2 separate regions of the Homo sapiens genome follow, and region 2 is linked to region 1. The links are contacts of gene promoters, found by promoter capture Hi-C in blood cells and fetal thymus (Javierre and others, 2016). All regions are on one chromosome and are shown on one strand. Each heading gives the region's core, a stretch centred on a gene start or on the middle of the fragment in contact. The rest is flanking DNA. Distances are from core to core; before and after follow the strand shown.

The links. Contacts are between HindIII fragments. The CHiCAGO score rates a contact against its expected background, and 5 or more counts as called.
Region 2: a contact is called between a fragment that was not itself captured here and the fragment with the promoter of CASC11 in region 1, in 2 of 17 cell types (total CD8 T cells and megakaryocytes). The highest score is 7.7, in total CD8 T cells.

Annotation. Positions count from the first base shown.
Region 1 is chr8:127,729,941-127,735,819 of GRCh38, reverse strand. It overlaps CASC11 (cancer susceptibility 11), which reads left to right and starts at 1,853. Exons shown (of 4, transcript NR_117102.1): 1 at 1,853-1,995. It also overlaps a transcript of MYC not described here. RefSeq lists a silencer at 1,659-1,778, a cis regulatory region at 361-3,103 and an enhancer at 2,683-3,184. The HindIII fragment of the contact is 10,989 bases long and covers 1-2,075 here.
Region 2 is chr8:128,867,490-128,873,578 of GRCh38, reverse strand. No RefSeq gene overlaps it. Among named protein-coding and RNA genes, the nearest start is that of LINC00976, 95 kb to the left of the region's middle. The HindIII fragment of the contact is 173 bases long and covers 3,977-4,149 here.

The DNA.
Region 1 (5,879 bases), core at 604-3,103:
TCTCAAACCCTCTCCCTTTCTCTGCTGCTCCTCCGTAGCAGTACTGTTTGACAAACCGCATCCTTGTCCTGTGAGTATAAATCATCGCAGGCGGAACAGCTGCCCTCCACACCGAGAACGCACTGCGCGCCCACCGCCACGCCACGCGCGTACCAGGCTGCAGGGCGCCTCGCTAAGGCTGGGGAAAGGGCCGCGCTTTGATCAAGAGTCCCAGGGAGAGTGGAGGAAAGAAGGGTATTAATGGGCGCGCGTTCAGAGCGTGGGATGTTAGTGTAGATAGGGAGGAATGATAGAGGCATAAGGAGGAAAACGATGCCTAGAATGATTAAAATAACCCAGCAACGCATTGCCACGTATACTTGGAGAGCGCGTTATGAATAAACTCCCATTGCATTTGTTGGGGGGAGTCATGTATTATGCATTATGTATGCACAGCTATCTGGATTGGATACCTTCCACCCAGACTGAGTCCCCCAATTTGCTGCCAAAGCAGCAGATACCGCCCCTCCTGCCCCGCCTGCTCAGGCTTCCGTGGGGCCCCGTGCGGGAGGCGTCTGTTTAGCCCTGAGATGTGTCTGCCTGTTCCAGAGCTGGGCTAGGGCGAGAGGGAGGTTGCCTGCTCTCTGCCAGTCTGTACCCCACCGTCCCACCCCCACGCCTCCCACACGGAGTTCCCAATTTCTCAGCCAGGTTTCAGAAGAGACAAATCCCCTTTGCGCCCTGTGGCGCCGGTTTGCAACAGTCTCGGGCTGCCGGGTTTGGGAGAAATCAAAGGTGCTAGACGGGAGAATATGGGAGGGGCAGGGGGTACCCGAACCGCGGGACCGGACTTCCTAAAAGGGGCAAGTGGAGAGCTTGTGGACCGAGCCGGGGGAGTCAGCAGAGACCCTTGTGAAAAAAACCGTTAACTCTTTCCTCCCCGGACAAACCGGACGTTTAATTCCTTTCCAGGTCCTCTTTCCCCTTTTATTATTGGAAATGCGGTCATGCACAAAAAATGCATCGATTCTGATCAAAGAAGAGGAGAGGAGTATTACTTCCGTGCCTTTTTTTGGGGGGGGGGGAGTCTTGAGCTAATTAAAATTTGGCTGCCTTCCAGGCATTAATTTCCTAGTTCACTGACTCACAATTTTTTCTGAATACTAGTGAAAGTGCACTGTATGTAACCCGCAAACGTGTATTCACATTTTATTTACGCTTCGACTTAGCTAGTTGCCCAGCCCCACACATGATTTGTTTGCTCCCTGAAATGATCTATATTTAATATATAATGTATATTCCCTCGGGATTTTTTATTTTGTGTTATTCCACGGCATGAAAAACAAAAAACATTCTTCTCATCCTTGGTCCCTCACCCAAAGGCATTTTAAGTAAACTTTTCTCTCCCTCCACCACCTCCAAAAGAGAAAACAATTCGGGGGAAAGGGGTGCGTGTATAGCATGTACGCTGTTCAAGATGGGTTATTACCCGTTGAGTTTGCAGCTCAGCGTTCAAGTGTTAAGTGAATATAGTAGCTTCCAAATCCGATGCACTGCACAATTCAGCTTTAAGGATTGCAAATTACTCCTGCCTCCAGGCCTTTGCCGCAAACGCGGGGAGCAACCAATCGCTATGCTGGATTTTGCTGCAAAGCGTCTTTCCCTCCGCCCCCTCTCTGGGCAGCACCCGCGTTCAGGTTTGCGAAAGTAAAGTAAGTGTGCCCTCTACTGGCAGCAGAGATCATCGCGCCTGGATGTCAACGAGGGCGGGGGTCAGGTGGGGGCAGGAGCAGGAGCGTCCGAGGTGCAAGGTTTCCAGCGGGGGAAGGACAGGCGGTTCCTTAAAACAAGTTTCCAGCCACCTCCTTGTTATTCTTTCAGGTTGGCTGCAGAAGGTCCGAAGAAAGAGGAGTTACTGGAGGAAAAAGTGGTTCAGAGGTGACTATTCAACCGCATAAGAGATGGTGAAAATTAACCTATCACCACTGCTAATGAACATCACCCTATGGAGAACCGGTAATGGCAAACGTGAAATAATTCACAAGTACATAGACGAAAAAAAAATTCCAACAAACCCTAAAACGGCCAAACAAGCTTTAGCCCCCACGTCTTAGAAACTCATCATCTTTTTTAACCACAAAATTTGAAAGCAAGACACTGGATTTATTGGGGAAAGGGGAGGCACAGCAGAAGGTGATGGGTATTTGGTTTGGCCTATTATTATTAATTATTATTCTTATTATTTTTGAGACAGGGTCTCCTTCTGTCACCCAGGCTGGAGTGCAGTGGCACAATCAAAGCTCACTGCAGCCTCGATCCCCCCGGGCTCAAAGCAAACCTCCTACCTCAGCCTGATACCCCAGCCCAGTAGCTGGGAGTGCAGTGCACCACCACACCCGGTTAATTTTTTAAACTTTTTGTAGAGAGGCAGTCTGGTCATGTTGCCCAGGCTGGTCTCAAACTCCTCGGTTAAAGCGATCCTTCGGCCTTTGCCTCTGAAACTGCTGGGAATACAAGTGCGAGTCATCGCTCCTGGCCTTGGCTTATTATTTTTACTTTTAAAATATTGGGCTGGTGAATAATAAGTGATTTTTTTTAATAGCAAGAAGGGGTATTTGAGATCTCATAGAAAAAAAGTGTGAAGGAATAGGAGCATTTTATTAAAGGTTTTAATACTAAAATGAGTATGCAATAAGGTTGAAGTAAATGTGAAGGAAATTTACCTGGCACGTGTCCCTGGTCAAGTAGGTTTTTACGGGGCAAAGAATCCCTGACGGTGTCTGATCACTTAGATGCCCTAAGGACTTCTGGCAGTGGAGGTTCCTTCCCGCAGGAGCCTTGTAGGCTGATTTCCCAGGAATCTGGCACTTTTGGCATTACTCTAATTGAAGCTAAATGAGTGCTCTCCACAGGGGCATGCACTCCCCGCCCCTCAAAGAAAACCCTCAACAACAAACAAACAACAATGGCAAAACCAAAAGTAGGTCCAGCTTGACCTCATAGGGTAGTTTTTGAAAGTTGCTAAAGATGGCGGATATACCACATCTTCGGATCTGACTCTCAAATTATGCCAGTCCAGTGTAGGGCATGTGAACCCCAGGCAGATATAATGCCTGTGGGTTCAGAACTTAACCTCACTCTCCCTCAGGCTGGTGACATCACCTGAGGTGTTACTTTCAAGTAACAGCTTGGAGTTGTTTTGTGCCATCTCCATTTTTACATGAGAGAAAACAAAGCCAGACCTCAGCCAGGTTAAAGGACATAACTGATTTTCTTTTAGTAATTTTTGAGACATATTTGACCTAGAATAGACATTTGCTGGGTTGAAAAATGGCTGAGATTACAACTAGTATCATGTATAACTACCAAAGTGATACGTGTCCATTGGAAAAATCCATTGAGAAATAGAAAAAGAAAGGAAAAGGCCGTGTGTGGTGGCTTATGCTTGTAGTCCCAGCACTTTGGGAGGCTCAAGTGGGAGCATCGTTTGAGGCCAGGAGTTCGACAACAGCCTGGGCAATGTGGTGACGTGCCATCTCTAAAAAAAAAAAAAGAAAAAAAAAAAAAGAAAAGAAGAAGAAGAAAGAAAGAAAAGAAAAGAGAGTTTTTTCTTCTTTAATTTTTTTTTTAAGACAGGGTCTCACCCTGTAGTCTAGGCTGGAAGGCAGTGGAATAATCATGACTCACTGCAGCCTCGACCTCCCTGGACTCAGGTGATCCTCCTACCTGAGCCTCCTGAGTAGTTGGGTCTACAGGCACAAACCCCACGCTTGGCTAATTTTTGAATTTTTTTTTTTGTAGAGATGGGGGTCTCACTATGTTGCCCAGGCTGGTCTCAAACTCCTAGACTCTGGTGATTCTCCTGCCTCAGCCTAAGTGATTCTCCTGCCTCAGCCTTCCAAAGTTCTGGGATTACAAAGGCATTAGCCACCATACCCAGCCTCCTCTCCTTCTTCTTCTTCTTCTTCTTCTTTTTTGTTTTTTAATAGAGGTACATTTTTGGTAGAGATGAGGTCTCACTGTGTTGCTCAGGCTTGGTCTCCAGCTCCTGGCCTCAAGCAATCCTCCGGCCTGAAGCAATTGTCCTGCCTCAGCCTCTGGAGTAGATGGAGTTACAGGCGTGAACCATGACACCTGGCCTGAAAGTGGTTCTTAATACTGACCAGTCAGAGGTAGTTGATGAAGTTTATCTTTTAGGAAGACATTTTAGGGACATCTTTGGTCTTTCACCTCAATTTTTTTTGGAAGACCATGGAAGTTGCCTTCTGACTAATTGCCCCTTGCTTGTTGCTCTAGCAGCACTCTTTTTTGTTGGCTCCCCCTGTTATTTGGAGCTGCTGCTGAGTGGGTTGGGCTTCTAAGAACAGGCAGGTCTCCTGGAGGGCCGGGGTTGGGACTCTAGGTCAACAGTCTGATGGGGCGGCCTCACAGAACAGAATAGTGTGTAGCTAGAGGAAACATTTTTTTTTCACATAGGAAGGCACAAATAATCATTCATTCTTGGCCATGCGCCTGTAATCCTAGCACTTTGTGAGGCCGAGGTGAGAGGATCATGAGGTCAGGAGTTCAAGACCAGCCTGACCAACATGGTGAAACCCCGTCTCCACTAAAAATACAAAAATTAGCTGGGGGTGGTGGAGCGCACCTGTAGTCCCAGCTACTCAGGAGGCTGAGGCAGGAGAATTGCTTGAACCCGGGAGGCAGATGTTGCAGTGAGCCAAGATCGTGCTACTGCACTCCAGCCTGGGTGACAGCGAGAGACTCCGTTTCAAAAAAAAAAAAAAAAAAAAAAGAATCATTCATTCTCACAATCACATAGTCTCACAGTAGTAGTAGTCATATATTTTTATACTTAGGAAAAAAGAAAGAAGTGCAGAAATAATGAGCGATTTGATCAAACTTTCTCCTTTCTCCCCAGAGACACAAAAGGGAAGATTCAGAATGTGTGACTTGTATAAAATAAAACCAGTTTCCCCCGACCCCAACACCTTCTTTGAACATCTCTTTCTCCACCTCTCAAAAAATTTCCTACTGAGTTGGTCCTCTAGTGAAAAGAGCAGTTAATAAGATGGAAAGCAACTGGACGTGGTGAAGAAAAAGCCAGCGAACTTAGGGGTGAGACTGAAGCCCCTCAGGGTGGCTGAGCTGCTATTTGAAAAATTCCTTCAAGTCACGTGCGGCCTGTCAAGAGATGAGGTGAAGGAAGAGAATGATAAATATCTATCTCCAGTGGAAGGATCATTTTGAAAGAAGGGCTGTTAGATTAAAAACCAAGCTAGCCAGGGAACGTTAAAGGAAGAGAAGTTCTCACAAGCATTTTAATGCCAAGCATGTGTTCCAACGAGAGGAACACAGGAAAGCTCTTCAGCAGATGAGAAAATGAAATTCGGCATCACTAATTCATAGGAATGATAACAAAAACGGCAGTGAAGAAAATCTGTGCATTTTAAAAAATGCATGTTTTTTGCTTAGTGTTGTCCCTTCCCCTCCTGGCTTTTAGTATACTGCATTCATTAAAGTAGCTGAGAAGAAAAATAGTAGATGCTGTTAACGTCAGGCCTGAGAGCTTCCATATCCTGTGTTGCGTTGAGTTTTGGGTTTGTTTCCTTATTCACTGTCTTCTAGATCTCAGACCCTAGCAGAAGGTCTCAGAATGGACCTAGTAAACTTTGGTCATACCTCCAGCTTGGCCTTCTTTTATTTTTTTGTTCTTTGCTGCAACCCTGCCTTACTTTGTAGCTACTAGAGTGGACAAATGGTTCCTTTGTTGAACCCCTTCAAAGGCTTGGTTTATTGTTCTATAAGTGCCAAGCTCAAGCCAGTCTCAAAAGTTTCCACACTTTGGCTCACTGGCCTGTCTCTGCTATGGTCCTTTTGGACAACATATGTCCCCACAATGG
Region 2 (6,089 bases), core at 2,814-5,313, 1.1 Mb before region 1:
GCGTCTTAGTAATAACAATACTAAAAATAATACAGTAATAATGACAATAAAGATTCCTAGCTCTCTAGTATAAATGATGCTCTCACAAATGTGAATTGCTGCAATGCTTCTGGAAAATATTTTATTACTAATTTTCAAGAGATAATACATTTTCCTATACTTTGCCTTAGAGAGGTAAAAAATAGTTAGACACTTTTTAAGTTCCAGACTCACATCATCTCTTTGACCTCAGAAACTTTGTTTTAAGAAATCTGCCAAACAATGTGTTTTTTTCTACTTTTCATATTTTATCATAATTAATTTTGTGATAAAAACTTTGTAAATACCTTTACCATTAACACATTGTTTGGCAGTCAATATAAAGATGCAAATAGTTTAAGTGTGAAAATCATAGCTCTTATTAGGTAAAAGTAAGTCAATTGCTCAGAAGAACTACAGTTATTCTATATAGGTGGTTTTAAAGGCAATGCCTCCCACAGGTCCTCATGGAGATGACGTACCTAAGTCAGATTTCTATAATAAAGTCTTCATGTTAAACAGAAGAAAGATTTTTGCATTGTTTCTTTTAACATCCGATCAGGATGAGAAAAAGACAAAATTACAAAAGGGGCATTTCTCCTTGAGTAGCTAAAGTCACAGGGTCTAGTGCCTTAAAAAATCTATGTATATGTCTGGCACCACAGTCCTGCCCTATTTAGCTTAAAACAAAACAAAAAAGGAACAGGGAAAATAAGTGTTCTTTCATTTATTCACTCACTCGTTAGAAAAATGGTTATGAACTTAATTTTCTGTGGTTCAAAATATTACACAAAGAAATTATTTCTACCAATATTAGTCTCAAATTCAATTATCATAAGAATATGTAACTATGAGCAAGTTTGTAAACCATCATTTTGCAATATCTAAAATGTGGTGGTTGGAATAGATGACGCTTAAAACCTCTTCTAATTTAACATTCTATGATGTTGATTGTTAAAAACAAAATGGTTGGCAAAAAACAATGTAAGCAGAACAGAAAAATATATTTTGAGGGTGGAATGTAATGGGATTTCCTTGGACAGTTTCATAGTTTATGCCGTATAGACAGATAAAAATGGCATAGTTCATCTGACTGAGTAACCTATTCTACTGCTTTTAATCAGTCATCTTTGAACATTTTCAGATCATTTTGCCTTAGAAGCTAAAACTGTGTCCAACACGGCAGTCAATGAAAAAGTATAAACCTCTGGTGTCAGAGAGAGTTTGTCTAGCTTTTTCATATAATAATCGTGTGACCTAGTCAATTTATTTAATCTCTCTGTGTGACAATAATATATACCTCAAATGTTGTAAAGATTAAATAACAGTGAAAGCGCCTAGTGATTCCTGCAAGGGACATTCTAAATTCATGTTTGTTTCCTTCCTCTTAGAGAAGTTTTATTCTTATAAATAACGAAGTTGATATACACTTAAGAGCTTCCATGTCTAAATATATCTCTTAAGTTCCTCATAAGATGCTTAAGTAAAATGTAAAATTAGGGTACCTATAAACAAAGGGAAACTCTGTGCTTTTCCAAAGCAAAGGCACTTCATTTTAGCTTCTGGAAGTGTAGTTCACATTAATTCCCTGAACAATTTCCTGAGTTAGAAATATTGCCATAGAGACATTTTGACCCGAGCAATATCATTTTCAGCAGAACAAAGATGTTTATGTGCTGTATAGTATTTTGGCATTTGATGCTGGGGCACAGTTTGAAAGTTCTGAATATACATGAATATCCTAACTTCACTTAGCAGCATCTCCTTTGAAAAGGTAAACTTGATATGCTTTCAAATTTCATGCCGTTGGGTCTAGTTAAGATGGCAGTCCTGAATGAAACACATTTAAAATCTACTCCCTGAAGTGGAAAAGTTGGGCTAGAAGTTTCTCTTCTTCCTCCTTCTTTTCTTTCTCCTTCCTCTTCACAGACAAAAATGTTGGCTAATGAAAAATACTTTAAGGAGATTCTCACTTATAAGGACATAATTTCTTAAAAGAAAAATTAGTAAACAACAAAAAAATAGTTGAAAGAAAAAAACTAATCAGAGGCTTCTAAATTAAAGCAACTTCTTTTACTAACAACGACATTCATAAAATTTTTTAAAATTTTAACAGCCAGTACTGTCCTATTGTGATGAAACCTGTACATTGCTAAAGTCATTGGAAACTGTATGACTCTTTAGGTAATATTTAACAAATATTAAAAGCCAGATAGCTATTCATATCTTTTGCCCCAATGATTATGAATCTTAGAATTATTTTATTTATTTTATTCAAAAAGTCCTAATTGTGTGCCCCAGTTGAGCACTTGATCTGCAAAAACAAACAAGGCAAAAACTGTTTGAAAAAGTTTATAGTCTAGTGAGAGATTTATTTTAATAAAACAATTTAGCAAGACTGAATGGCATACGTAAGAAATTTTCACTACAGTGCTACTTCTAGGAGCAAAAACTATTATGTCTACCTAATATGCAACAATAGGAGGATAATTAAATCCATAAGTTTATTAGGTAGTAAAATATATGTTTTAAATATGATAAATGTGAACACTGCACAATGTAGATATCAGCATAAAAATATTAAGCAGGATTTTATAAATAGTATGATTTTATTCATGTAAAACATATTTGAATGGAATAAAATGGGAATATGAGAAAATGAAAACTGTGTATTTGTCATATAGTGGTAGACTTTTTTTTAAATTCAGTATTATCTTATGAGTCACAATATTACAAGGAAATCACAGTTTTTAATTTTAAAAAGTAGCAAAAAACTCAATATTTTCTGATCAATAATAATTATATGGCAAAATATACAATTGGCATGTTATATGGAAATCTGAAGCTTTCTTTTTGGCCTATAGTTTTGTCCTACCCGTGAAATAGTGTAAGTTCTTTGAGAAATTTTAGTTTTTTTAAAATTTAGTTTTATTTTTGATTTCTAAATATTGCCCTTAAAATCCATTTCTAAAATATAGGGTAAAGGCAGTTCAGGAGAATGCAGATAGAATAGAGATCAGCAACCCTGGGCAAGTCACTTCATTTCTTTATGTTTCCTCATCTGGAAAACGGGGATAATTGTGTTCACTTGATTTTAAAAGAAAGGAAGGAAGGAAGAAAAGGAGGGAGGGAAAGTGGGAAGAACAGAGGGTGGGAGGAAAATGAGTACAAAGAAAGAAGGAAAGAGGGGAAGGAGCAAGAATGAGAAGAATGGAGAAAGCCAGCCTGAAAAGGAGGCAGAAGTGGTGTGCTTCTGAATTTGAGGTACACCAAAAAAGAAGAGCTGCATCGGTCGTGGTGCAAGAGAAGGAAACTGGACACAGACGGAGCAGATGCTGCAGGCTGGGTGGCCAGTATTACACTGTAGGGAACACTTCAAAGATGCATGATCTAAATCTCTATGGTTCCTGAATTACAGGGCAGGGAAGTTCATAACGTTGTTTTTCAAAGTGGATATGCTAGTGAGAGAATTTATCATTGGAATAACATTTTACAGCGTAGAATGAATTCCTTTTCTTACAACCAGGAAACCAGTCTGAACTCCCCTCATCCGAACCCAGTGGAATGATTCCATCCTTCCTTTGAAAATCCCTTTCAATTTACTTTCTAACGTAAATTCTCCATTCAACTCAAACCCTTTAGTGTATGGTTCAAAACTTACTTTGTCTGTCATCGCACGGTGTCCTTCTCTCACTCCTACATAGCAAGAAATTCTCATCCTATCCCCGTAGCCTTCAACCACCTCCTGAACTTTTCACCATCTCAAAAAAGCCATCTTATCTGTAATCATCCCCGGAACACTGTCTGAAATGCCAACCCCTGACTCGCTTCCCTTTTGGATATTCAGTGAACTCCTTCTCCTTCATCAATACCAAATTCAACCTGCATTTCCTTTGAAAAACCTTCCTTAATTCCCCAGCAATACATCCCCCTTTCTCTTCTGAGTATCCCTAAAGCTTTGTTTAATAGTTGTGCTTTTGAATAAATAAATGGAAAGACGAATGGATCAAGAAATAAAGCAAGGGAGGAAACCTATATTTGTGAGATCAGAATCTTGGCCATTTTGTTTTTGCATAGGAAACAACTTTATTAAAAGTTGTAATAAGACTATAAACATAGCAAATCCAAGCTTTTACTTCATATACTTCTTATTTGAAAGGTATGTGAACTAAAATGAGAAACAAGCATTAAATGTAACTAACTGCTCAGCAGTACATGAACCTGGAACACATCCATCTTGAAAATTCAAATCCCAAATCCATCTCTAATAGTTCTAGCTTACCATTACTTTTGGTTCTTCTTCCACTTGCATCACCAAAACACAATACCTTTAAAATTTTTGACCACCTATACTGTTGTTCAGGAAGAGTTGGGCATCTTCTTTGCTCTATGGTTATGCAACTCTCTTACTTTCAGATTTATAAACAGCAATTCAATGTGAACTTTGGATTTGAGGGCCCTAAATTTGAGTCATGGCTTCATGCCATGTTATTTGGGTGGCCTTGGGCGGAATATTTTACCTATCTACAACCTCAATTTCCTCTTTTATAAAATAGGGAAAATAACAGTACCTGCTTAATAGGGCCCCTTTCTCTTTTCCTTTTTTTTTTCTTTTAAATTTTAGAGAGCTATGTGTTCAGTGCTTTCCACATAGCAACTCATTTATCTTGGCCAACAGCCCAAGAGTTGAAAGTGGGAAAATGCTTGAGCTGTGCTTCATGCAGTGAGGAGCACATCAAGAGCTCTCCTTTGTAGATGGTCCATGCTAATTTCCATTGATTCTTCTTAATCTTAGCAAGAAATCAGTGATGGTGGAACCTTAGAGGTTTTCTAGTCTACCTCTTCATTTCAAGCATGAAAACATGGCAGAGGGATAAATGATGTTCTAGATCATAAATGATGTTCTCAGATCACAGTGTGGCTTTTCTGGTGTTGGTCCATCTCTATTTCCAATACACATTTACTTTGGTCTAAAGGCATAAAGACATAGGATGCTCTGGAAGAGTCTCCTTGGTTAAGCATGTATGTGGCCCATTAGCAAATACTTGGAACCAACCCAAATGCCCATCAATGATAGACTGGATAAAGAAAATGTGGCACATATACATCATAGAATACTATGCAGCCATAAAAAAGGATGAGTTCATGTCCTTTGCAGGGACAGGGATGAAGCTGGAAACCATCATTCTTAGCAAACACAAGAACAGAAAACCAAACACTGCGTGTTCTCACTCATAACTAGGAGTTGAATAATGAGAACACACGGACACAGGGAGAGGAACATCACAAACTGGAACCTGTTGGGGGTGAGGGGTTAGGGGAGGGATAGCATTAGGAAAAATACCTAATGTAGATGACTGGCTGATGGGTGCAGCAAACCACTGTGGCACGTGTATACCTATGTAACAAACCTGCAAGTTATGCACATGTACCCCAGAACTTAAAGTATATATATATATATATATATATATATATATATATATATATATATATATAAAGAATCACACAACAGAATGAGGAGATATTTGATTATGGCTATTAGGGAGTATGAACATGGCCAAACCATACTTTTGTTAAATGCTGTCTCTTCTTTAGCCTACATACATGTACCTATTAAAACATATATTCAGAATTACACCAGGCTATTAAGGCAGTGTATGTAAATGCCAAAACTAAACTGGACTCTTTGGGATAATGGGATTGACTATCTCATTATAAAAAGCCTGTAATGCTTCTTTAGGAAATTCCTGGCTTGATATTTGCAAGTTCAAATATTCTCATGTTATTTAACTTTTGCTTCTTATTTCAGTTTCACAGAACCTGGGGGTGGAGGGAGTACGGAAATCAATAGCTTCCAATCTCATGATTTTGCATTTACTGACTGCCTCTCTTGCCCACCCACATGCTATGTTTTTTCATTAAGATGGATTTTATATCACAAATATATATGGTAACAATCTCTTGCTAAAACCAACAGCCTGCTTCAGCAGTGATAAGTTTATCACAGATCATAATAGAACAATGTGAATACCTCAAGCCAGTGGGTAAATCTTGCCCCTTGTTATGCTCTG